7 separate regions of the Homo sapiens genome follow, and regions 1, 2, 3, 5, 6 and 7 are each linked to region 4. The links are contacts of gene promoters, found by promoter capture Hi-C in blood cells and fetal thymus (Javierre and others, 2016). All regions are on one chromosome and are shown on one strand. Each heading gives the region's core, a stretch centred on a gene start or on the middle of the fragment in contact. The rest is flanking DNA. Distances are from core to core; before and after follow the strand shown.

Evidence for each region. Contacts are between HindIII fragments. The CHiCAGO score rates a contact against its expected background, and 5 or more counts as called.
Region 1: a contact is called between a fragment that was not itself captured here and the fragment with the promoter of NUP214 in region 4, in 2 of 17 cell types (total CD8 T cells and non-activated CD4 T cells). The highest score is 6.4, in total CD8 T cells.
Region 2: a contact is called between a fragment that was not itself captured here and the fragment with the promoter of NUP214 in region 4, in 1 of 17 cell types (M2 macrophages). The highest score is 7.0, in M2 macrophages.
Region 3: a contact is called between a fragment that was not itself captured here and the fragment with the promoter of NUP214 in region 4, in 13 of 17 cell types (monocytes, total CD8 T cells, M2 macrophages and 10 more). The highest score is 14.7, in monocytes.
Region 5: a contact is called between a fragment that was not itself captured here and the fragment with the promoter of NUP214 in region 4, in 1 of 17 cell types (M2 macrophages). The highest score is 6.0, in M2 macrophages.
Region 6: a fragment that was not itself captured here is called in contact with the fragment with the promoter of NUP214 in region 4 in 3 of 17 cell types (monocytes, activated CD4 T cells and total B cells); the score reaches 7.1 in monocytes.
Region 7: a contact is called between a fragment that was not itself captured here and the fragment with the promoter of NUP214 in region 4, in 2 of 17 cell types (monocytes and naive B cells). The highest score is 6.9, in monocytes.

Annotation. Positions count from the first base shown.
Region 1 is chr9:132,670,434-132,674,133 of GRCh38, forward strand. GTF3C4 (general transcription factor IIIC subunit 4) reads left to right here and starts at 31. Exons shown (of 5, transcript NM_012204.4): 1 at 31-522. The coding sequence starts at 166. RefSeq lists enhancers at 1-274, 1-39, 3,134-3,183 and a silencer at 190-319. The HindIII fragment of the contact is 251 bases long and covers 1,393-1,643 here.
Region 2 is chr9:132,307,178-132,310,999 of GRCh38, forward strand. All of the region lies in intron 11 of SETX (senataxin), which reads right to left. Among named protein-coding and RNA genes, the nearest start is that of SETX, 46 kb to the right of the region's middle. The HindIII fragment of the contact is 1,794 bases long and covers 469-2,262 here.
Region 3 is chr9:132,346,979-132,350,521 of GRCh38, forward strand. It overlaps SETX (senataxin), which reads right to left. Exons shown (of 26, transcript NM_015046.7): 3 at 2,274-2,457. The coding sequence starts at 2,450. Among named protein-coding and RNA genes, the nearest start is that of SETX, 6.2 kb to the right of the region's middle. The HindIII fragment of the contact is 4,966 bases long and covers 1-3,543 here.
Region 4 is chr9:131,123,090-131,126,982 of GRCh38, forward strand. It overlaps NUP214 (nucleoporin 214), which reads left to right and starts at 2,497. Exons shown (of 36, transcript NM_005085.4): 1 at 2,497-2,660. The coding sequence starts at 2,616. AIF1L (allograft inflammatory factor 1 like) reads left to right here. Exons shown (of 6, transcript NM_031426.4): 6 at 1-55. RefSeq lists an enhancer at 2,396-2,695. The HindIII fragment of the contact is 3,004 bases long and covers 2,465-3,893 here.
Region 5 is chr9:132,327,502-132,331,145 of GRCh38, forward strand. SETX (senataxin) reads right to left here. Exons shown (of 26, transcript NM_015046.7): 9 at 3,551-3,638; 10 at 1-2,998. Among named protein-coding and RNA genes, the nearest start is that of SETX, 26 kb to the right of the region's middle. The HindIII fragment of the contact is 436 bases long and covers 2,177-2,612 here.
Region 6 is chr9:132,406,643-132,410,121 of GRCh38, forward strand. It overlaps TTF1 (transcription termination factor 1), which reads right to left and starts at 198. Exons shown (of 11, transcript NM_007344.4): 1 at 148-198. The HindIII fragment of the contact is 770 bases long and covers 869-1,638 here.
Region 7 is chr9:132,381,160-132,385,186 of GRCh38, forward strand. The region is part of intron 9 of TTF1 (transcription termination factor 1); the gene reads right to left. Among named protein-coding and RNA genes, the nearest start is that of TTF1, 24 kb to the right of the region's middle. RefSeq lists enhancers at 1,102-1,261, 2,679-2,728. The HindIII fragment of the contact is 1,886 bases long and covers 1,126-3,011 here.

The DNA of each region.
Region 1 (3,700 bases), core at 268-2,767, 1.5 Mb after region 4:
GCCGCGTTGCCTGGCAACGGCGGGGTCCTTCTTGGCTCGGCGGCGCTCGGGGCCTGAGGGGAGAAAACCGCCGCGGAGGGCGCTGGGGGTGGCGGCGGCGGTCCGGGAGGTGGTCGCGCGACTGCGTGGAGCGCCAGGGCGTCCGACCTCTGCACCTGAGAGAAGATGAACACGGCCGACCAGGCCCGGGTGGGGCCCGCGGACGACGGGCCTGCGCCGTCTGGGGAGGAGGAGGGAGAGGGGGGCGGCGAGGCGGGCGGGAAGGAGCCAGCAGCGGACGCGGCCCCGGGGCCCAGCGCTGCATTCCGCCTCATGGTGACTCGGCGGGAGCCGGCCGTGAAGCTGCAGTATGCGGTGAGCGGCCTGGAACCGCTGGCTTGGTCCGAGGACCACCGCGTGTCTGTGTCCACGGCCCGCAGCATCGCTGTGCTGGAGCTCATCTGCGACGTGCACAACCCGGGCCAGGACCTGGTTATCCACCGCACCTCGGTGCCCGCACCGCTCAACAGCTGTCTCCTCAAAGTAAGTCATCCCCCGCCATCCCTGGGGTCTTCCCCTGTCCCCCTCTCGCGGCCGCATCATCCGTCCCAGGGGAATCCGATCCCACACTCTGTCCGGGGATTTCCCTCTTCGCACCGAGCGCTGGGGATTTATTAAGCAGCCAGGGTTACCACAGCTTAAAAAAAAAAAAAGAAAAGCTCTGCAGCTGTCTGCACCCTGTTTCCCCAGGTCACCCGCCGCCGCAAACACAGGTACACACCCAGGGGGCTTCCCGGAGTTGAGTCCCAGGAACCCCTCCTTCGCCCCTCCGTCGGGCCCGCACATGGAGCGGGTTACTCGATGGTGCTTTCTGAGACTCCACCCCCTGTAGATCCAACCCGGGGCCTGCCTCTGTCGTTGCTGCTATTGTTTGGGGCCGACTTTCCGAGGTTCTTGGCTGGCTTTGTCTACTGTGTGTGTCCTCCTCTCGCGCCTCTTTAGCTTCAGAAAAGAAAAACTGGTCCCATCCATTGTCTTAATTGTTTCAGTGACTTTATTATGAATGGTCCTCGCCTCTCCTTGGGCAAACGGGTAAATACTGGATCTCGGGGTTTGTACTTTAGTTTTTCTTTACTAGCTAAACATCTTTGGGATGTTGAATGAAAATAAAGATTCGAAACAACTACCTATCTTAAACTTCAAGCGCAAGGTCAAGTAGTAAGCCATAGCGTTCCTTTTAGTTGCTTAGAGGTGTAAAAACTTTCCATATATCCTTGATAGAGGTGTACGCTTACATGTGAACTGTCAGTGTATATTCATACATTCAATAGATATTTGAATACCATTCTGCTTGGTGCTGCCCCATGTTCTGGAAATAAAGCAGTGTACAAAACAGAACCCCTGCCCTCATGAAGCTTACATTCTTTGGCAAGTCAAGCACAAATGATAAGGTCCTGTCAGGTAGTGATAAGCACTGTAAAGATGTGTATCCGCACATAGAGAACATGTTTATGTGTTCGTAAACTCTTATTTTGGAAAACCATTGAAAATATGAGTCATTAGCTATAGGTAGGGTGCAGATAACCCTCATCACTTTGTAGCATACTTAATTCAAGTTTCAAACATCTTTCTGTTGTTAGATTGTTAGTCAGCTTGTATGACTAAGCTTCCTCTAAGATCTTCTTGAAGAAGATATGAACACATTTGTTCAAGTGTAAACAAATCAGATAGACAGATGCAACCCTATGAAATTGAGAAATACAAAAGGAGGGAGGCAGAAGAAAGGTGATTTAAAAGGTGTATCTTCTGCTGTAAAGGAATTTAACTGTTTCCAAGGATGTTCATCCGCACAGCAACTCAAGGAAAGTATGTATGTCAGTATAGTAGACATCGAATACCTTAGCAGAGAGAATGTAAAGAAAGGAGGGAGTAGTAAGGGGAGAGACTTATGGGGCAGGTCATCTGGTGGTGAATCTGCAGCAGTCCTAAAGAAGGTAGTGTTTGGTTTGTAAGAGGAAGGAAGGAAAGGGCATTCCAGGCGGCAGGAATGAGGCATTCATCCCATGTGCATACACGTTTAAGTCATGAACATAATTAATTATTGTTTGTATAATGACGGATCAGTACATGAGCTCAAGTAGGTCTTCTAGAGAGTCCGAGAAAGTAAGATGAGACCAGTTTGTGGACTTGGAAGGTCGGTATGAGGAAGTTGGCTTCAATCTAGGAAGTCTTTAAGATGCTGTTACAGTTTCATTAGCATAGAGTGACCTGCTGTGGTTCAGGAACATTACTGGATAGAGGCAAGAAGATGATTGTTGTGATCAGTGTAAAATAAAAGTGAAGAGACTGGGCTTTGGCACAAGATAGGCCTATCTATAAAAGGGGGATAATGAAGCGTTGTTTAGGTTTTTTGGAAGATTAAACACACATAATCACTTGGCCCAGTTCTTGGCACGCTGTAAATGCTCAAGGTGAAAATATAATGAGTTGGGCCGGGCGCGGTGGCTCACGCCTGTAATCCCAGCACTTTGGGAGGCCGAGGCGAGCGGATCACGAGGTCAGGAGATCGAGACCATCCTGGCTAACACAGTGAAACCCCGTTTCTACTAAAAATACAAAAAATTAGCCGGGCGTGGTGGCGGGCGCCTGTAGTCCTAGCTACTGGGAGGCTGAGGCAGGAGAATGGCGTGAATCCGGGAGGCGGAGCTTGCTATGAGCCAAGATTGCGCCACTGTACTCCAGCCTGGGCGACAGAGCCAGACTCCGTCTCAAAAAAAAAGAAAGAAAATATAATGCAGTTATACAGGTATGAAGGAGTAGGAGTCTGGATTAATGTCGTGGTTGTGGACATGAGTATTCTGATAAAATTTTGACTGTCATTTTGCCTCAGTTAACATTTACCACAACTGCTAACTAGTAACAGGAAATCCTTATATAGCTCTCTTATAGTTGACAAATGGCTTCTATGAAATTAATTAGTAACATCTTCCCCTTCTGTACTGTTGTTTTTTTTTTAATATGCACATCACATAAACCATCAGTCATTTAGCAGTCTTTTTAGACTGATTGAAGTGAATGAATGCTGAGTTGACCCTGCAGTTCTACAAGAGCCCTCTGTGGGTTAAAACTGGTGTGACGGTAGGAATGTAAAGAAGTCTGTGTCAGCACTTTGATGACTCCACCCATTGGCAGTCTGTGGATTTAAATCTGCTCGGTGCCGTGCAGCATGCCTTCGCGCTAACCTAAATGGTGGACAGTCTGCAGCGCAGATGACAGTTTTAGTGTAGCACTGTTAGAAAGCTAGGTACTAAACACCTTTGAAGCTTTTGCTCTATAATTCTGTTATTTAGATTATGAATTTGCAGGAAAATCTGCAGTTATGTAATAGTTCAGACATTAATTATCAGCTGTTTTATAAGATTGTATGATATAAAGGTGGACAGTATAAATCTGAAAAGCAATGAAATAGTGATTTAAGAATGTCAGAATTGTTTTTCCCATTGGACTACTGATTTAGTGACTCATCTAGTGAGACATTTGTGTATAGTTCCAAATTCTGATAATATTTGTGTACCGAATTGTATTGTGCATCAATTGTTAGGAGCCTTAGAAAGTATTAACTTCATCTGCTACATTAAGTTAAATAACTGTTGCCTGTCTTTGGACTCTATTACCTGTCCTCAAGAAGCTTACTGTCTAAAAGCTTCAAGTGAATTTTTGT
Region 2 (3,822 bases), core at 116-2,615, 1.2 Mb after region 4:
TCGGGAGACAGAAGTTGCAGTGAGCCAAGATCAGCTACTGCACTCCAGCCTGGGCGACAGAGCAAGACTCTGTCTCAAAAAAATAATAATAATAATAACAACAATAATAATGTTTTCTGCCTTAATGTCTATTTAGTTTGATATTAACAGAGCTAAATAAGTTTTTTTTTTTTAATTTGGATATGCATGGTTATCTTTTACTTACAATCTTTATGTATCCTTATATTTAGATGTATTACCCACTAACAGCATATAGCATGCCCAGATTGGTGTTGAAATACTGCTTTCAACTAAAATATAGCAAGGCTCCTTAGAAAACTGTAAGCTCAGTTATGGGATAAAAACAATATATATGATGAACTTGGAACATCTTGTCATAGCACACAGCCTCAGAGCCAACTAGAAGGAGCTGACTGAAATGGACTGAAACACAAGCACACCAATCCATGCACTCATAGTTCTTTTTTAAGCTTACCAGTCACCACTGGCACTTACTAGTGATTTTTTTTTTTTTTTTTTGAGATGGAGTCTTGCTCTGTCTCCCAGGCTGGAGTGCAGTGGCACGATCTCGGCTCACTGCAACCTCCGCCTCCAGGGTTCAAGCGATTCTCCTGCCCCGGCCTCCCTAGTAGCTGGGACTACAGGTATGCGCCACCATGCCCAGCTGATTTTTGTATTTGTAGTAGAGACGGGGTTTTGCCATGTTGGCCAGGCTGGTCTCGAACTCCTGACCTCAGGTGATCTGCCCCTCGGCCTCCCAAAGTGCTGGGATTACAGGCCTGAGCCACCGCACCCGGACTACTAGTGAATTAAACTCGTTATTCTGAAAACTGGTCAAGCAGCAAGTATTTATACTGCCTTTCCTTTATAAACTATGCTACTGAGTAACCAAATAGTAGTAGAGAATTTTCTCTCTAGAGAAGTATTCCAGCTAACATAAAATGATTAAAGTATCACCATTTTGCTCCCTTTAATGAATTAGTGACTAAGTACAAGCAGCTGTGATTATCAGAAAAAGAAACCAGATACCACGTACCTGCTGCTGCTGATGGAACATACCACCAACTATAAAATAGTTTTGCCAAAAACAAGTAACAAAAATTTACCTGAATTGGATCAATCCTCTAGTTCCAGGTATCAATATACAGGAAACACACAGAGGACAGAGACACATTCTAAACACCACCAAGGGGATGCAATATCAGCAAAATCCAGACCATGATTAACTCTATAAAACTAATTTTTCAACAAAAAAATTGCAAGGGAAGAAAATGAGAGAATTCTAGTTTAAAAAGACCTATCAACCAATGCCATTGGGTGGACTACTTTGGATCTTAAGCTGAAAAAAAGTGTTATGAGATAACTGAAAATTTGAACACTGACTGATATGAAGGGATTATTGGTAACTTTTTAGGTATGACTTATTTTTAAGCTCTTATTTTTTAGAGATAGTCACTAACATAGTCACTAACTGAAGATGACATGCAAAACCTCTCCACAGAAAACTATAAAACACTGAGAAAAATTTAACCTAAATAACTGAAGATATATACCTTATTCATGAATTAGAAAGTATTAAAAGTTGTCAATTCTTCCCAAATTTCCACTTCTTTTCCTCTAAAATTTATATGGAAATGCAAAGGGCCAAGAATAGCCAAAGCACTCAAAAAGTAGAGCAAGGTAGGAGGGGTGAGGCGCCGTGGCTCACACCAGCACTTTGGGAGGCCAAGACGGGCAGATAACTTGAGGCCAGGAGCTTCAGACCAGCCTGGCCAATAGGTGAAACCCCGTCTCCACTAAAAATACAAAAATTTGCCAGGCATAGTGGTGCACACCTGTAGTCCTAGCTACTCGGGAGGTTGAGGCAGGAGAATTGCTTGAACCCGGGAAGCAGAGGTTGCAGTGAGCCAGGATCGCGCCACTGCACTCCAGTCTGGGCGACAGAGCAAGATTCCATCTCAAAAAACAGAACAAACAAAACAAAACAAGGTAGGAGGACTTGCTCTGTGAGTTATTAAAACTTCTTATAAAGCTAGATTAAGTAAACAATGTGATATGAGCCCAAGGGTAGGCAAATGATCTCAAGAAGAACAGACTGATGCCCAGACATTAAGTGGACTCCAGACGCATGACAAACATAGCAGTGCAGTGAAGCACAAATGGTCTTTCAATAAATAGTACTGGGATAATCAGACCTCTACTTGGGGGAAAAAAAAAAAATGGAACCCAACCCACATGCCTCAGTCAGAAACAAAACAAGAAAGCTTCTAGAAAAGGGGTTCCCAAATTTCCTCTGTAAAGGGCCAGATAGGCTTGTGGGGCCACACATAATGCCTGTTACATACTCTTTTTTATAGAGCTTTAAAAACGTAAAAACCAGCTGGGCGAGGTGGTTCACACCTGTAATCCCAGCACTTCAGAAGGCTGATGACACAGGAGGATCACTTGAGACCAGGAGTTTGAGATCAGCCTGGGCAACGGCACAAGACCCCATCTCTATATTTAAGAAAGAAAAAAAAAAGGGGGAACATAAAAAATGTACCCTAGGGCAATACAAAATCAATACATGGGGTAGGTGGATCTGCGAGCTGTAGTTTGCTAACCTTTGTTCTAGAAGGTAAGAGAGATCCTGATCCATGGGTGATGGGGGTGGGGGCAAAGGAAGGCAAGAGAATGTAATTTGCAACCTGTAGCAGAGAAAGATTTCTTACTCTTCATTTAAGAAACGGGACACAGAGCACTGACAATAAAAGACTGATGTATTTACTATGTTCAAATAAGCAATTCTCAATAAGAATGAAAAAGAAATTTTTAAGACATCACTAAAAAGAGTCAGTATGTAAGTCAAAGTGAGGAAATGACTTCTACCCAGATTATATAAAGAACTCCTACAAATCAACTGAAAAAAAGACAACAGAAAATGACCAAAAGCCTTGAACAGGCACTTTCCAAAAGAGGTTACTGAGACAGCTACTAAATATGTGAAAAGATGCTCAATCTCCCTAATGAGGACATTACAAAAGCCCACAAAACACCATCAATACACACAGCCCAACAGCTAAAAATCTCAAAACAATCTATACAAATGTGTTGCTGAAGACACAGAAAAATGCAACTTCTCATATACTGCTGGTGGAATATAATTTTGTACAATAGGCTTGGCATTATTTACTGAAGTTGAACTTATACACACCCTAATATTCCACAATCTACTTCTGGATATAAACTTAACAAAAATGCATTCAGAAGAACACTAAGAGATACATGGGTGATCATAGTAGCATTATTCATAACATGCTGTGCAGAAAAGAGTTAACATAGCAGGCATGCTATCCTTCAAAAGACCTGCTTGCGAGGCTGCCCCTTGGCTGGTATCTAGGAACTTAGATTTTAGGACAGTTCTCATCATTCCCTAATAAAAATGGCTCACTGTTACTAAACCATGTGTGAAAATGATAAGTTCCTGCCAAACATCCGCTTTCTTTCTGCTTTGTGGCTATTGCATCTCAATGTACAGCTGACAATTGAACATGAGTTTGAAGTGCACAGGTCCACTAATTCATAGATTCTTCTCCATCTCTGCCACTCCTGAGAGAGCAAGACAAATCCCTCCTCCTCTTCATCTATCTACTGAGTGTGACGATGATAAAGATGTAGACCTTTATGATGATCCGTTTCACTTAATGAATAAATATATCTTCTCTTCCTTATGATTTTAGTTTCTTTTCTTTAGCTTTATTGTAAGAATACAGTACATAATACATGTAACATATAATTGTAGTTGTTGTTTTTTGTTTTTGTTTTGTTTTGTTTTTGAGACAG
Region 3 (3,543 bases), core at 575-3,074, 1.2 Mb after region 4:
GCACACTGGCTCCTGCCTGTAATCCCAGCACTTTGAGAGGCTGAGGTGGGCGGATCACCTGAGGTCGGGAGTTCAGAACCACCCTGACCAACACGGAGGAACCTCGTCTCTACTAAAAATACAAAAATAGCCAGGCGTAGTGGTGCATGCCTGTAATCCCATATTCGGGAGGCTGAAGCAGGAGAATCGCTTGAACCCAGGAGGCGGAGGTTGCAGTGAGCCAAGATCACGCCACTGCACTCCAGCCTGGGCAACAACAGGGAAACTCCATCTCAAACAAAAAACCAAACAAACGAAAAAAAACAAGAAAACAAAAAATAGTATGCTATGTTTAAACACTTTTTATTTTTTTTTGAGACAGAATCTCGCTGTCGCCCAGGCTGGAGTGCAATGGCGTGGTCTCAGCTCACCGCAACCTTGGCCTCCCAGGTTCAAGCGATTCTCCTGCCTCAGCCTCCTGAGTAGCTGGGATTACAGGCGCCCACCACCACGCCTGGCTAATTTTTGTATTTTAGTAGAGACGGACTTTCACCATGATGGCCAGGCTGGTCTCAAACTGCTGACCTCGTAATCCACCTGCCTCAGCATCCCAAAGTGCTGGGATTACAGGTGTAAGCTACAGCACTCAGCCTTAAACACTTCTCTTGTAGAAGTTTTCTATAAATATCTCAACATCCCTATCAACTACATTCAAAAAAAAAAAAAAGAGAAGCTGGAGCCTCTCTGTCAAATGCAAAACCGAGGCCCTTCTATGTCTTCCCTTCTATGTTCTAGCCATAGCTAACTACCTTAGTGCAGCTTGTGGTATAAAAGACGCTGGATAGCTTCATAATTAGAAAACTTTATAAAGTGCACGTTTCTCAACACAAGTCCATTACTAATCATCCTCTCCTCTATATACTGTATATATCTCTATGGTCTACGTTCTGTTTTTCATCAATAAATAAACCAAATATTCAAAGCCAAATATTTAGAATTATATCTTTCACTTTTGTTATCATGACTGGAAAATATGCTTGCCCTTAAAGGTTTATGCCATTTGCCCATTAAAAAAAGAAAAAAAGAAGTTATTATTACCAATTAAAAAAAAAAAACCCTGGCCAGGCGCAGTGGCTCACAGCTGTAATCCCAGCACTTTGGGAGGCCGAGGTGGGCAGATCACCTGACGTCAGGAGTTTTGAGACCAGCTGGGCCAACATGGTAAAACCCCATCTCTACTAAAAATAAAAAATTAGCCGGGTGTGGTGGCACGTGCCTTTAGTCCCAGCTACTTGGGAGGCTGAGGCAGGAGAATCGCTTGAACCCACCTGGGAGGCAGAGGTTGAAGTGAGCCAAGATCACGCCACTGCACTCCAGCCTGGACAAGAGAGTGAGACTCTGTCTCAAAAAAAAAACAAAACAAAAAAAAAACAACCCACTAACAAAAACCCAGGCCATTCAGATACTCAGATACATGCATGTATTATAGCACTGACCAAAAAATTATGAAACAAATCCCCTCCCAATGACTTTATTTCATTAAATTATTTTATACCAATGTGACTAAAAGCAACAGATCATAAAATTCTGATCCAGGTTTCAATTCCATCCGTGATAAACATTTACTCAGCACCTAGTATATACCAGGCAATGAGTTAGGTACTTGACTTATATTAGCCTTCAAAGTCGGCCAGGCATGGTGGCTCATGCCTGTAATTCCAACACTGGGGGGCCAAACCGGAAGGATCACTTGAGCTCAGGAGTTCAGGACCAGCCTGGGCAAAATAATAAGACCTCGTCTCTACAAAAAAATTTTAAAAATTAGCAGAGCATGGTGGCACATGCCTGTAGTCCCAGCTACTCAGGAGGATGAGGTGGGAGGATGGCTTGAGTCCAGAAGGTTGAGGCTGCAGTGAACCGTGATCGCACCACTGCACTTCCAGCCTGGGCAACAGAGCAAAGACCTTGTCTCCAAAACATAGCAAAACAAACTATGAAAACCCATGTGGCCCATGGAAAATCATGAGACAGCACTTCCACTTTCAGGAATTTGTCCTAAGAATATACTCGAATGTGTAAAATGATATATGTATAATCACTCCACTGCACTCCAGCCTGAGTGACAGAGTGAGACTCCATCTCTAACAACAACAAAAACAAAACAAAAACAAAAAAAAAAACCCACAAAGTTGAAATCGTATCATCATTTCTCTGAATACTTCCAACGGAGTTCAAACTTACTCTCTTCCCAGCTATCAAGCTCTGAAAAATATTGCCCATCTAATATATTTTACCTCATGCAAGAATGGCAATTCATCTCTTGCTTTGTGGTACTCAGCCACACACTCCAAGCAGTAGCAGAGGTCTTCGTCGGCTGTTTGAAATTCACCGGACGGAGTGTTGGAAGCATAGCGCTTTAGGAAGTCAATGGTGGAAGCACCACCTGGCGTACACCAACAACATGTGCTCATTCTGTACCTACAGCCAGAAAAGATGACATCAAGAAGAAAACCAACTTCAGACCTACTGTGTGTCAAGAATAGGTACACTTTCAACTTGTGACCCTGGTTTCAATTTAAAATGTGTCACTAAAACCCAAATCTTCTGCTGGCTGGCTTATCAATCACTGATTCACTAAACTAAAAAAATCCTTCTATTTTTGACATACGAAAAATACAGAAAAATAAAAGCATTGTATAAGGAATAAGTATCATAAGGCAACATAAAGTTGTGCTACAGAGAAGGCTCAAAACAACACAGTACCGATAGAAAATATATAGAGACCCAGACTTACCAATATTTTCAAAGTACAGATTTTGGAATGGGGAAAAAAGTTACCAACTACAAACTTAAGTTCATTTCATAAACTGAATGGACCTAGCTCAGCATTCTCATCAGGAGTGATGTCACCCTCAAAGAGATCTAAAACTAGTTAGTGGGACGTGAAAAAGCCCTCCTCTTTTTAGATATAAAGCTCAGATAAACATACAGTACATAAAGAGAGACACAATATATTGGTGGTAATAAAATTCACAGGAGAGGCAGTTTTTAAAAATGTTTAAAAACTCTCCACTCAGGGAGAAAGGTTAGAAGGAGGTTAAAAAACCTAAGTAAGCTGGGAACGGTGGCTCATGCCTGTAAGCCCAGCACTTTGGGAGGCCGACGTGGGCAGACTGCTTGAGGTCCGCAGTTCGAGACCAGCCTGGCCAACATGGTGAAACCCCATCTCTACTAAAAAGAATACAAAAATTAGCTGGTGGTGCGCATCTGCAATCCTAGCTGCTTGGGAGGCTGAGGCAGGAGTACTGCCTGAACGTGGGAGGCAGAGGTTGCAGTGAGCCAAGATTGCGCCACTGCACTCCAGCCTGGGTGACAGAGTGAAACTCTGTCTCAAAACAAACAAACAAAAGAAACCTAAGTGAAGACACTGAGTATGTGGGAATGGAAACATGGCAGTGTGAGATTTTTGAGTATCACCGTCACCCTAAAATTCAGAATACATAATCTTTACCAACAGGAAATATAAAACATCTCAACAGAAACTAGGCTTGGCTGCTGAGGCTT
Region 4 (3,893 bases), core at 1,247-3,746:
TGTGCGTGGACTGGGATATCATCTCTACAGCCTGCAAATAAACCAGACAAACTTACCAACGTCTTGATTGGTGTATTTTGGGGCTGGTTCTGGGCTCAGCAAATTGCGAACTAGCTAATATAGTAAGAGATTAAATGAGCATGTCCTGTGCCTTTTGTCTGAGACAGCTGAAATTCACTTATCCTAACCACCTCCCTGCAAGAGACAGGTTCTATTATGTCATCCTTGTTTCACAACTGAAAAGTAGGCTTGAATAAGCAATGTGCTGCAAGCCAAACAGTAAATGGCACAATCCGACCCCCCTGGAGCCAACCCATGAGGTCCAAGTTAAGAACCTCTGTCGGCCGGGCGCGGTGGCTCACGCCTGTAATCCCAGCACTTTGGGAGGCTGAGGTGGGCGGATCACGAGGTCAGGAGATGGAGACCATCCTGGCTAACACGGTGAAACCCCGTCTCTACTAAAAATACAAAAAATTAGCCGGGCGTGGTGGCGGCCGCCTGTAGTCCCAGCTACTTGGGAAGCTGAGGCAGGAGAATGCTGTGAACCCGGGAGGCAGAGCTTGCAGTGAGCCGAGATCGCGCCACTGCACTCCAGCATGAGTGACAGAGTGAGACTCCGTCTCAAAAAAAAAAAAGAACCTCTGTCCTAGAGCATTTATAATTCACTACAGAAATGTATTCTATGAAGGACTTTAATACCATCAGTCAGCCTTATCCAGACGATCTCAATTCTAATCCTGTCACCACCACTTTCTGACTGAGGGCTATTGGAGAATTTTCTCAACTTCTCTGTGCCTCCCTTACCTCATCAATTATTATTATGTATGTGTATGTGTGTGTGTGTATATATATATATATGTGTGTGTGTGTATATATATATGTGTGTGTGTGTGTGTATATATATATATATATATATATTTTTTTTTTTTTTTTTTTTTTTTTCTGAGACAGAGTCTCACTCTGTCACCCAGGCTGGAGTGCAGTGGCACAATCTTAGCTCACTGCAACCTCCACCTTTTGTGTTCATGCGATTCTCCTGCCTCAGCCTCCTGTATAGCTGGGAACACAGGCGTCCGCCACCACACCCGGCTAATTGTTGTATTTTTAGCAGAGACGGGGTTTCACCATGTTGGCCAGGCTGGTCTCGAGCTCCTGACCTCAGGTGTTCCACCCACCTCGGCCTCCCAAAGTACTGTGGTTACAGGCGTGAGCCACTGCTCCCAGCCTATTTTTATTTACTTTTTTTTTTTTTTTTTTTTTGAGACGGAGTCTCGCTCTTTCGCCCAGGCCAGACTGCAGTGGCGCTGTCTCTGCTCACTGCAACCTCCGCCTCCCGGGTTCACGCCATTCTCCTGCCTCAGCCTCCCGAGTAGCTGGGACTACAGGTGCCCGCCACCGCGCCCGGCTAATTTTTTGTATTTTTAGTAGAGTCGGGGTTTCACCGTGTTAGCCAGGATGGTCTCCATCTCCTGACCTCGTGATCCGCCCGCCTCGGCCTCGCAAAGTGCTGGGATTACAGGCGTGAGCCACCGCGCCCGGCCTTTTATTTACTTTTTGAGACAGGGCCTGGCTCTGTCACCCAGGCTGGAGTGCAATGGTGCAATCACAGCTCCCTGTAGCCTCAACCTCCTGGGCTCAGGCAATTCTCCCACCTCAGCCTCCCGAGTAGCTGAGACTACATACGCATGCCATCACTGCTGGCTAATTTTTGTGGTTTTGTTTTGTTTTTTATAGAGACGGGGTCTCGCCATGTTGCCGAGGCTGGTCTCAAACTCCTGGTCTCAAGCAATCCTCCTGTCTCCGCCTCCCAAGTGCTGGGATTATAGGCATGAGCCACCCGCGTCTCATCAATTAAATAAATAACCCCTAGGACGACTAAGATGTCTTCAAGATTACATGAGATCCCACATCTGAAGGTTTTTGCAAAGGACTTGGCACAAACTCGTGCGACTAGACATGGATATGGCTCTTGCTCTGGAAAGGATCACCTTGATAGGAGCAAACAAAGCTGGTCTTCGGTGCCCTTTAATCTCCCCTCCCAGCCTTCCACCTTCCACACTTTAAGAGTCGTCCCTGCCGACCCCCCGACCCCGTTTTTCTGAACCTCCCTTCCTCCCCTTGCATAGTCCAAAGCCTCTCTCTAAAGCAGCCCCCCGAAAACATCTGTCAAGTTCCAAACTTATCTGAATCGGAAGCTACCAATAGCCAACCTACATCTAAGGGGAACTGTAAGATTTCAGAAGAACAAGAAGCATAGGTCGCTTAGGCGTGGGCCACCCAAGAAGAGAGACTTAACACTAGGTAAGCCCGCGCTGGCTGCGAAGGCGGGAGCGGCACCAGGACCATCCAGGGCGCAGGCGCAGGGACCTCACGGCCACGCCACTACTCAGCCCGAGCTGGCCAATGGGGAGCGGCGGCCGGAAGAACGCGCGGCTTCGCTAGGTTCCGCGGCTTCCTCTGACCAAGCTTGACGTCACCAAAGCGCGCCGGAAATGCGAGGTCAACTGCGCGCCGCTGGCGCTGAGGGGAGGAAGTTTGCTGTCGAGCGGCCTGGGTTCCGTGGGCAAGGCCGTGGGAGGCAGCGTTGGCTGCTTCGACACACTGAGGGCGGCGCGATGGGAGACGAGATGGATGCCATGATTCCCGAGCGGGAGATGAAGGTCAGAGACTAACCGGGGCCTCCCTCCCTTCTTTAGTCCTGGCGTTGCCTTGGAGCCCAGCTGAAAGGCGAAGCGCGGTGCTGGCTGTCCCGCCTCCTGCTTGAACAGTTTACCGCGTTCACAGCTCTCACCAGCGCGTCTGCCGCGCCGCTGGCGTGATAGCCCCACCGAATGCAGTTTCCCAGTCCCATCCTGGTCTCGTGCACGGCTGTTGAGTTACCCTAGCTACTTCCTGGGGCGGTCACAATAGTGGCAATAACTGCTGTTTATTGAGTGTTGACTGTGTGCCAGGCACTGTGGTAGTCATCGCGGCAGCCCTACGAAGTAGTCGTTAACGTAGAGGAGTAAGTTGAGGCTCGGAAAGTAATTTCCCTAAAGTCACATTTGACGCGGGGCTGAAAGCCAGCATCATTTAAGACCTTTGCTCTCCCAGTACTTCTGTAAGGTGATACGGGCTTGCCTAACGTAGAGTCAGGGAAGGTCATCCATCCTGCAGAACCTTTAGTTGATTGGACTAGGAAGACTATTTTGACCTCGGTATATCAGCCTAAAGTCAGGAACCTAAAGGGAGGGCCAAGTGGTCCCAGTGATAGCAACGTGGGAGTCCCCCAGGGATAACTTCAGGATGGTGTGTTTAATAGTTCTTATATGGGTTCTGACAGAATGAGGGTACAACAGACGGGCTACATCTGTTTTAAATAGTGAAAAGAAGTAAGTTGCAGGAAGATTTTAGGCATCTGTGTGAACAATAAATCACTAAAATGCATTTAGGGCATAGTAATACCATGTTTAGAATAGTGATTTTTTTTTTTTTTTGAGACAGAGTCTTGCTCTGTCACCCAAGCTGGAGTGCAGTGGCATGATCTCGGCTCCCTGCAACCTCCACCTCCCCGGCTCAAGCGATTCTCCTGCTTCAACCTCCCTAGTAGCTGGTATTACAGGCGCCTGCCACCACGCCCCACTAATTTTTTATATCATTTGGTAGAGACTGGGTTTCACGATGTTGGCCAGGCTGGTCTCGAACTCCTGACCTAACGTGATCCGCCCTCCTCTGGCTCCCAAAGTGCTGGGATTATAGGCGTGAGCTACCGTGCTGTCCTAGAATAGTGATTATTTTTTGAGAATCACCACCTGTGGTGAGCCACCTAATGGGGTTGTGTCATATTCCTCAGATATGCTGGGGTAGAAGAAAAAAAGGTTTTATTAATAGAACCACAGACTTAGAAGATGGTA
Region 5 (3,644 bases), core at 1,145-3,644, 1.2 Mb after region 4:
AAAGTCTTCGTCTATTTTTTTGTGATTTGGGTCTGATCTGCCTTTGCATCTGAAGTTCTTGACTAGTCAGAAGTTTCTTATTATTTCTGACAGACAGGTTCTGAGGAGAAATTAATTTAGTCTTTTTTCGGGTATCAACTACTCCAACAGTTTTGCCATGATCACGTAATTGAGCTACATAATCCAAAGACCGCTGGGACAACTCATATGCCTTACGAGGACCCTTTTTCAGGCCAAGTTTCTCAGCTGTTGAAGTTGGCTCAGGACACTGACGAAATTTCTTTGGCGGCACTATAGCAGGAGTTGTTCTACAACTTAGGTAATTTGAACTTCTATTCTGTCCTTTTTTGGCATCTGAATGAGTTTTCTTAGGGGTCTTAGAAACTGGAACTTTCCTGATGGGTTCTGTACAAGTACAAAGCTTTGAAGACTTCTTTTGTGAAACCGTAGTGGCTCTCTGAATACGTGAATTGGGAGTTGAAGTCCTTCTATCAATACTTTTAAAATCATTTCCCACAAGATCTCTCTTATTAGTATCAGACTGGCCCTCATTTCTGACAGAAGATGAAGGCCTCACAGGATCTTCAGCCATTGGTTTTTCAGATCGTTTTCTCTTAGGCTTTTTTACTTCAATTTCACAAAATTCTTCAACAGAAATACTCCGTGGTCTTGTGTGTTCTTCAATGCCCTCTGCTCCTTTTTTAACAACTTCAGATACATAATCTGTACAACCCTGACCATTTGTAGTATTGGCTATAGGAGCCAAACATTTTTTCTCACCATCTTGAACTGAATTATTATCGTCTGGATGATCTTGCCAAACTGAAAACACTTCAGATGAACTTTCAAACTCAAAACACTGAGAATCAGATTCCTCAAACTGAAAAAGAGTCTCTGTCTTTTCTTCCTTTACTGGATTCTTTTCCTCCTTACTATTAACTGTTGAAACGTGCTGCTCTGGATGTTCCCTCTCAAGGCATATTTTGTCCTGTTTAGTGAGTTTCTCAAGACTCAGGATTCTTTCATCATCATCATCATCAGAATCTGAAATAATAATAACCTGTCCACGGGAGGTATCTCCAACATTATTTTGGTTAGCTGTGAAACATCTTTTATCTTCTTTTACTTTCCTTTGCAGCTGCGATGAGTTCTGAGGTGAATCGGATGGGAACGTAATAACACTGGCTTGAGCTAGTAAAGATAATTTGTGAAGGTCTCTGTCTATCTGAGAATCCGTTAAGGTGTCAGATTTAGGACTGATGTCAGGGGCCTGTTCTCTTGTCAAGTTAGAATAAATCACACTGGTACTATTACTCATCTCCTCATCTCTTGATTCAGGTACAGTCATAAGATCTTTAAAGGGAGATGATTTCTTCTCTGAAGCATTGGTCATTTCTGTAAAAGGGATCAATTCTTTACCATCAACATGAAATTCCTGTATTTTACAATTGTTTTCATGGAAAGAGAAAATAACTAATTCTTCATTCTTTAATTGTTTCTCTTTTGGCAATACATTGTTTTGAGATTTTTGTTCTCCATTCTTATCATCCAGAACACCACTAGGGTCTAAAGAAAGATTGTGTATGAAACCATCTCCTTTCTGAACTCCTGTATCTTTCCTTGAATAGAAACTCTCAATGTTAGATACAGTCAAATTTTCATCTAAATTGATAGTATTATCGACCAAAGTACTCTTCCTGTGTTGCTTCTTTATTACATGTGATAACTTTGCACAGATTTCATCTTTCTGTACCTTAGTTTTTCGTTTTGAGGTTTTAGCAAGAGCATCATCCTTTAAAGAGAAATCTTCATTCGATGTGGACACTTTTTCCAAAGCATCAGTGCTAGAATCAGTCAACAAACGTGTTGATACTATTATTCCTCTGTCACATCCCCTTTCTGGACCATTTCTTGAAGTACAGTCCTTTGGTGTATATGAAGAGATCTCTTTTACAGACTTCTGCTTCCTTGTACTTATTTTAATTTGATCTTCAGCTCTTTCAGTAAAAATGTTTTTACTACTCTGCTTTAAGCATGACCCAGCTAAGAGATGGTCCTCTAGTTTCACATCCTTTATATAATTTTGCTCATTATTGTCACCTTCTATAGTGTTATCTGCTTTGATCAATACACTGTCTTGCACTTTCATTGGTTCTTTAGAAAATGTTGGGCTGGAAGCTTCCAAACAATGCATATCTTTTCTAGACGTCTTCCCCATTTGTTCACTTTCTTCTTTATTATAAGATGCAGGAGAGATTTTACATGCAGAAGTCAGATCCACAAAAGTGTTACATGGAGGTGCTTTGAATTTTATGTTTCTAATAATTTGCTTTAAGCAACTTTGTAGCTCATGGGTTTCCTGACTAGTCAACTGCCAACCTAGAGATAAATTTCCTCTAAGGAATAAGTTGAGCTTATCCCAGAATCGCTTGCAAAGAGACTGCTGCCCAAGCTGATAACCTTCTTTAAGGAGACTTCTAATCAGCTGCACATAAGCAAGTTGTACAGAGTTAGATGGCATGGAATGCAATGACAGTGAAGATATCATTGCTGTTCCTTTGGAGCAATTTCCAGATGATTTCTCAGAACTCCGTGTAAACGCAGTGGTAGGAAGCTTGGCACATTTGACGACGGCTTCCACCCATTGCTGGGAACTTACCCACAGCAAATGCAAACATTTTTTATTTCTATGCAGTTCAATCACTGATACCAAAATTAGAAGAAAAAATTCAGTGACTTTGTCACACACAGCATCTGTTTGGTTGAGGACTTCTTTGACTTCAGAGTACAGATGATTAACAACCTGTGCTATGTAAGCCACACCCAAATCCTTAAGATCCATGAGGGACTGGACAAAAGGGATGAACCATAGAAATGTGCTGTTATGAACACGCATGTCTTGACCAATATCTGACTGAAGTACACTGGCTAATGTTTCCATTTCTTCATACATGTTAGGACAATAATCTGGGCAAATGGCTGTTCTCCATCCAGAATCCTAAAATGAAAGAAATGCTGATGTTCAGATAAATAAGCACCACTTATGACAGGTTCAACACCCAAGTCGTTAAGAAAAATACGTTTCTCAACTCTCTTATTTTGGTTTACCACATCATTATTATGCTATACAATGGTATAATTGTGGCATATAATTATATCACAATCGTAATACACCTAACTCCCAAGAAAGTGAAAATATAAATTGAATTTTGAGTTTTCATAAAAAGACAAATTGGTAACACCTTTATGTACTCTCACCTTCTGTCCACTAGCTAGTTTTGATTTCTAGTCATGCCATGTATGTCCCCATAAACTTTCCATCTTCCCTAAATGTACTTATAAGTTAATTTTCCAAAGTATGCATACTGTAGTTAGAGTCCATCTTCCCCAACACACAATACATCTGCTGTTCAATGAGAAGGGCTTTTACATAGCAGTAGATTGAGAACAGCTACATATCACAAAATCTGCAACTCAACAAATTATACAAAATAGTCTACACAATATAAAGGCAATAAAATAGCATCTGAATTTTCAAAGTGTTTTATACCTTTTTGGTCTTTTCAGGATTATAATTGTATACGATCTGGCTGCAAGTCACCATATCATCCAAATAGGACTCCGGTTCTAACTTGGTCCTTAAA
Region 6 (3,479 bases), core at 4-2,503, 1.3 Mb after region 4:
GAGATAAGGCCTGGGGCAAAGACCGCGGCCTGGAGACCTCAGGCCAAAAGGCGGGTCTCCCAGAAGACGGGGAAACCCACCACCCCACGCTGAGTTTTTACGCGCGCATTTTGAAAAACAGAAACAACAAAGGCGCTTTCAACTTACCCTCCGAAAGCGCCGCCACCTTTCTCCCAACCCGGAAGTGCTGCTGTTGAGGAAGCGGAAGTAGTAGTGCGTCGCCTTCCGGCCCCCTCGGCGTCACGCTGCCATGGTAACACGGCTGCCGCTAGGCCTTGGAGGCGCGCACATTTGCCTACCCATTTTCCTTCTGGGTCCTTTAGACGTCAGGTGGGGTAGAGAGTGCTCCTGAAACGAAGAAAGTAGGACAGAATCCCCCTCCATTGACGTACTAATGCATGCGTGCATTCCATTTATTCCAGTTTTTGGTGAACTCCAGGAACAACTTGGGAAGACAGATGACAAATCAACTAAGATAATTTCAGATTATCTTGTAAGGAAAATAAAACAGGGTGACGTGATGGAGAGTGACTAGGGGACGGTGGGTGCTACTTTAGATGTAAGAGAGGGCTCACTGAGGAGGTGACATTTGAACTGAGTTCTAAATGGAAAGGGCAGGCAAAAAATCTAGGCAGAAGAGTGTTCCAGGCTGGAAGTGAGTGCAAAAGTCCTGAACTTGGTTGCTGGAGGACCTGGGACAAGGCCAGAGCAGCTGGAGCACAGAGTGAATCCACACAGTGAACCCACAGGGTGACAGACAGGTCGCACACGCCCAGCCTAAGTGAATGCATGTGAATGCAGGGGAGGGGGTGGGAGAGGAAGTCAGAGGTCTGCAGGGGCTATCTGGTGCAGAGGCTGATGGATGTTAAGCTTGGATGAAGTCTCAGAAGTTTAGAGTTAGCAGGAGCTTTGGAGATCTATCCCAGTCTTCCCATTTCAACAGAGTCCTGAAGAGACTTAGCCAAAAGGGCAGCTTTAACCTGGCCATCAATTCGAGGCCATTATATTTACCAACCAAACGTTTAACCTTTTTGGATAGTGAACATATACGATATAGGCAACAAGTTTTCTCACTTAATCCTTGTAATGAGGTATTATTAGCCCCACCTTGTGGATGAGAAACCTGGGTTTACAGTAACTTGTCCAAGGTGACTTAAATGGGCCAGCCAGAAATCAGACCTATGCTCTTTCTACTACTCCACTATCTTGCCCCTCACTGTTCCACCTGACTTCTATGTGATCTGCCAAGTGGCTTTGATTAAAAAATGCACAAACTATGCTTCCGTGAAAGTCTGGAAGGGAAGCAGGTTGGAGAAACGATGAGCCTATGTATGTACTCATGTTGCCATGCAAGGGCTGCTCTGGGATGTGGACGTGCAGTTGGAGCTCCGTCTGGAGAAGTCTGTAAATGTGGTGTTGTCCACTGTTGATATGGAAGGCCTTGAAGTCCAGGTCCGTCATTGGTGTCACGTGTTCTGTGGTGACCCCACTTACCCAGAGCCTTGTGGTGCTAGTGATGCATGAATGAACCCACAAAAGGCTGGCACTAGAGGAGAGATTAGATATCATCCAGTATCGATTCAGGAAAACTCCAATAGTGGTTTCCAATCCTCCTCCAACTGCACCAATCACCTGGGAAGCTTTTTTTTTTTTTTTTCAAATGCAGAGTCTCAACTTTGCAATGGATTTTATATTAAACACTATTGTATCACATTAAAATCTTCGGACATGATAATGACATTGTAGTTACACATGGGAATGTCCTTGCTACATGATGACGTACTTAGGGTTAAATATGGTGTTGACAGATATTTTTCAGGTGATTCTGTAATGTGTGTATGTGCATGCTCACAGAGAGAGAGCAAGAAAATGTGACCAGTGCTGGGGACGGGTGAATCTGTTAGTCCAAACTGCACCATTTTGTAAGCCCCCTGCCATTTTGCAGACCTTGCTTAAAGTGAAACATTCCACGGGGGTTCAGGCAGTGAGAAACAGCCTGCCTCTTATCATATTCTGCTGGGAGAAAGTGACAGGAACATCACGTTCCACCAGAACAAGGGCCAAACTGCCTCATCATGGGAATACCTTATCAACATCTTCCCGGGCAGCAGGCCATACCCACCGGGCCCCTCCCCGCCCAGGCCTATAATTTCTCCAGCCTGTAAGCAGCGGTAGGCACTGGCATTAAGCTGGTCTCCCACCTCTGTAGGTCTCATGCTGGACATAAAGCCTGAATTTGCTGTAGAGCCGCCACTCTTTCTTTAACCCTCCCCTTCCCTTCAAAATCTAACCGAATCTAGGTGAAGCCTATATGTATTTTCATTGTATTCTTCTTTCGACTTTCAACTTTTCTGTAGGTTTGAACTTTTTCACCAAGTTGTGGGTGGGTGGGTAAGGGGATTTTTAAAAATGCAGCATCTGGCCTGGTGAGGTGGCTCATGTCATTATCAGAGCAAGACTCCGTCTCTTAAAAAAAAAAAAAAAAGGAGAGCCTCAGATGCCATTTCCAGATATTCTGATTTAGTGAGTCTGGGGTGAGTCCTGTGAATCTTCGTTTTTCTTTTTTTGGCACATGGTCTCATTCTGTCATCCAGACTGGAATGTAGTTGCCGAAACACGGCTCATTGTAGTCTCAACCTCCTCAAGTGATCCTCCTGCCTCAGCCTCCCCCATAGCTGGGACCACAGGTGTGTGCCAGCACACCTGGGTAATTTTTTTAATTTTTGGTAGAGATGAGACCTCACCATGTTGCCCATGCTGGTCTCAAACTCCTGGGCTCAGGCCATCCTCCCTCCTAGGCTTCCCAAAGCAATGGGATTACATGGGTGAGCAGCCAAGCCCAGCCCAAATCTGTATTTTTCAATTTCCCTTCATTCTGTTGCTTAAATTTGGGAACCATTGATGTAATCCAACTCTAGCGTTTCCTTGTCACCCATCTCACAGGAAAAAAAGAAAAAAAGCCCTTAGGATCCAAGAGGGTGACTTGCCCGAGTCCTCCCAGTGGGTCAGCATCAGCATCAGGCTTGGAATGCATTTAGTGCTCTGTCTCAGGTGTGTGTGTGGCGCAAAGAGCAGAGGTGGGGAGGGGTTGTGAGTGGAATGGGGGTGAGCAGAGGATGGAGTCTTCGACTTGGAAGACAAATGTAAATGACCCTCTATGAGCCACGCCGCTTTGAACGCAACCCACTGGAGATTCTCGGTTCTCCTGTATCGATTCAGGAAAACTCCAAACAAGTCCACACTGGTAGCCACCAAGAGTTTCTTGAAAGAAAAGTACAAGCCGAGCCGGGCTCTGTTGGCGTCCCGTCGCCAAGGAGACGGGCCGTTGCATTCGTCCTCCAGGGGTGGTCTTGGTTTTCTTTCCTCTCCCAGTCTGCAACGCGGGGCCCAGGAGACGCCCTGAGGATCCCGCGGGGCTCCTGCATTGCTCCGGGGCTCTTTGCGATGAGGGGCCGGCGCGAGCGGGGCGCGCCTGGCTC
Region 7 (4,027 bases), core at 819-3,318, 1.3 Mb after region 4:
TGTCACAAAGCATACACAAATTTAATGGAAAAGCTGAATTTTTTTTTTTTTTGAGATGGAGTCTGGCTCTGTGGCCCAGGCTGGAGTGCAGTGACGCAATCTCGGCTCACTGCAACCTCCTCCTCCTGGGTTCAAGCAATTCTGCCTCAGCCTCCCCAGTAGCTGGGATTACAGGTACCTGCTACCACGCCCAGCTAATTTTTGTATTTTAGTAGAGATGGGGTTTCACCATGTTGGGCAGGTTGGTCTCAAACTCCTGACCTCAAGCAATCCACCCGCCTTGGCCTCCCAAAGTGCTGGGATTACAGGCGTGAATCACCACGCCCGGCCGAAAAGTTGAATTTTTAAAAAGTGGTTTGACATTATAAAGGGCTTTGTCAATGTAAGTCGTTCTCAAGATGGGAGCTGGTGGGGTGCACATCAGCGTCACCTCCTTCAAAGCACCTGGCACCCTCCCTGCTTGGGGCCTATGATGCTGAAGAGTGGGCACCCTGCCCCTCAGATGAGCTAGAAAAGAAAAGACTTTGGGACCACGGCATGTATCTGTGAGTCCTGGCAGGGCCTGGACTAAGAATTTCCAATTCTCCACATTCAAGAAGGAAGAGACGGATTGTCCTTTCTTGTTTGGTTATAATCCCAAACCATAAATAACTAACCACCAGAACCAGTTTAAACCCTCCCTAATGGTTCCGCAGAATATTGACTAGAAACAAAACAAAATCTTTCCTAATGGACCAATGGCGACCTCACACCAGTAGCCACACTTCTGGAAGTCAGCCAGGCTGCAGCAGCCTCACCCCACTGTCTACCTTCCAAAACCAAAGGCCAAACAATCCCTCAACATCCCTGCATCTGAAAGTCACTGATCCCCGAGCCCCATGATGCTCGGCAACACGTAGAGGGCCTGTGCTCTGCAGCCCAGCTCTCCCTTGCGTAGCAAGCAGTAAGTTGAGATATCGAGAGTGGTGGGCCCTCCAATCGCAGGAACTGATTAAAATGCAAGAGCTATGTGCAGTGAAGGCTCACAGTGAAGGGAAAGAGAGACAGCTTATAAACACAAGAGCCATGTTCAATCTCACTTCTCACATGAGAAATGCAAATGAAAACCACAAGGAAACTGACAGAAGCTTAAAGAGGAACAGGATCTTTATATAGTCTTAAAATGTCTTCCCACAGCCATTTCTTACCACCAAAGGAAGAACCAGTATTTTTATACAGTGGGGAAAAGAGGCAGATGCTGCCTTAGCTAAATAATAAAAAAAAGTCAAAACGAGAATTATGTACCTTGTGACGTAATGCAGTGATAGCAAACATCAGGAATATGCTGTACTCCTGCCCGAAGGACACAGCCTGAATCTCCTCAAGAGGAAATACCAGACAAGTGCCAACTGCGGACATTCTACAAAACACCTAGCCTGTATTCCTCCAAAATTTCACTACCATCAACAGCAAAGATGGACGATCTTCATAGATTAAAAGACAGTAAGGAAGGCCGGGCATGGTGGCTCACGTCTGTAATCCCAGCACTTTGAGAGGGATTAAGGCCAGGAGTTCAAGCATAGCCTGGGCAACATGGCAAAACCCCATCTCTACTAAAAATACAAAAAAAAAAAAAAAAAAAAAAAGTCAGGTGTGGTGGCTCACGCCTGTAATCTCAGCAATTTGGGAGGCTGAGGTGGGTGGATCACTTGAGGTAAGGAGTTTGAGACCAGCCTGGCCAACATGGTGAAACCTTGTCTCTATTAAAAATACAAAAATTAGCCAGGTATGGTGGCAGGTACCTGTAATCCCAGCTATTCAGAGGCTGAGACAGGAGAACTGCTTGAACCCGGAAGGTGGAGGTTGCAGGGAACCGAGATCACGCTGTTGCACTCCAGCCTGGGCAACAAGAGTGAAAATCCGTCTCAAAAAAAAAAAAATTAACTAATTAAAAAAAAAACTAGCCAGGCAGGGTGGTGCATGCCTCTAATTCCAGCTATTTAGGTGGCTGAGGCACAAGAATTGCTTGAACCTGGGAGGCAGAGGGTGCAGTGAGCTGAGATCACACCATTGTAACTCCAGCCTGGGCAACAGAGTAAGACTCTTGTCTTCAAAAAAAAAAAAAAAAAGGACACTAAGGAAATGGAACAATTATTAAAGGGGGAAAATGCTATCAAGGACATTACTGGGACAACTGGTGAAATCTGAATGTGGACTATGTTTTAGAGGGTGTACTATATCAATGTGAAACTTCCTGATTCTCGATTGTACTATGGTTATGTAAAATAACATCCTTGCTTGGGAAGTGGTATCTGCCACTAACTCTTGAATGGTTATGGGAAAAACCGTATTCCCTTGGAGGAGGGAGAGAGGGATGATAAAGTGAACGTAGCAGAATGTTCAGAAGAGGCGACTATGGGTAAAGGGGATGCGGGGTTCTTTCTGTTACTCTTGCAACTTGTTTAGCTTTTTGAAGCCTTTAAGAGACTTTGCATACATTTCATTTGCCTTTCTTGGGTGTCTTCGGTGGCAGGTGGGCTGGAGGGAGGGCTGGTCTGATTTATTTGGTCCAGAGCACAGAGACTGGAAGTCTCGAATAAACACACACATTGCAGCTTTCCTGTTCTGTGGCGCTGGCACACCACCCTGCAACCACGCAGTGTTTCCTCACCCAAGACTGTATCTTGGCGCTTTCTTTGCCCCACCACCGAGGGGCTTTCTCATGATTTTTTGTAGCTATAAAGAATGTCACTATATGGGTAAAATACATATATAGCCAGTCCCCTATTAACAGGCCTTTTGCAGTCAGTTACTCTGTATACAAGTCATTTCATGTATGTGTGAAGTTGTTTTGTAGAATGTATTTCTAGAAATGGAATTACTAGAATTATTTGAATTTTGAATGGTACTAAGGCTGCAAAGTATGTAAAATTTACCAAAACAGATAACAGTAATTGGAGGGAGTGAATGTAGATGTTTAATAAGGACGGCTGGATTTTGACAGTTGCTGAACTGGGGTGATGGGTACATGAAGCTTCATTTATTTTGTATCTGTCTAAAATTTTCCTAATAAAGTTTCTGAAAAAAATAATTGGGCATTGCTAATAAAGCAGTACTTAGAAGAAAACATATGGCCTTAAATGTATATTACAAAGAAAGAAAAATGGAAAATGAGCTAAGAACCCATCTCAAGAAGTTGAAGAACAGCAGCAAAATAAACTCAAAGAGAGCTGAAGGGAGGGCGTGATAAAGAGCTGACATTAGAATAATCACAAGATAGGGTCAACGCAATCAAAGCTGGTGCTTTGAAAAGACAATCTCTGGTAACTCCTATTCAAGCAGTAACAAAAGAGAGTAGGTATAAATAGCCAACATTAGCCATCAGAACATCACTCAGATCCTGCAGACATTTTGCATAAACCATCTACGGAAAATAGATACTGGTTTCCTGTAGGGCTACGCGTGGCTGGTGAGTGGTAAGGGGACACTTTTCACTGTGTTTCCTTTCAGGTTTCTTTCTTTCTTTCTTTTCTTTTGAGATGGAGTCTTGCTCTGTTGCCCAGGCTGGAGTGCAATGGCATGATCTCGGCTTACTGCAACCTCCGCCTCCTGGGTTCAAGCGATTCTCCTGCCTCAGCCTCCTGAGTAGCTGGGACTACAGGCACCTGCCATCATGCCTGGCTAATTTTTGTATTTTTGTAGAGACGGAGTTGAACCATGTTGGCCAGGCTGGTCTTGAACTCCTGACCTCAGGTGATCTGCCCACCTTGGCCTCCCAAAGTGCTGGGATTACAGGCAAGAGCCACCGTGCCCAGCCTACGTTTCTTTAATTCTGGACTACGTAATCTATTACCTATTCCAGAAAAACAGCAAAATCAAACTGAACAGTCAAGTCCTTTTTCCTTATGGGTGGGGCATGATATTCAGTTCTGTATTTGAATTGTTACACACAACTAAAACGTTCTAACTGGGAACCGACCAAGTCATTTAACCAGCGCTAAAGCACGGGGTCTCGGCAGGGTAACACATCTGAGTCACCTGGAGCTCT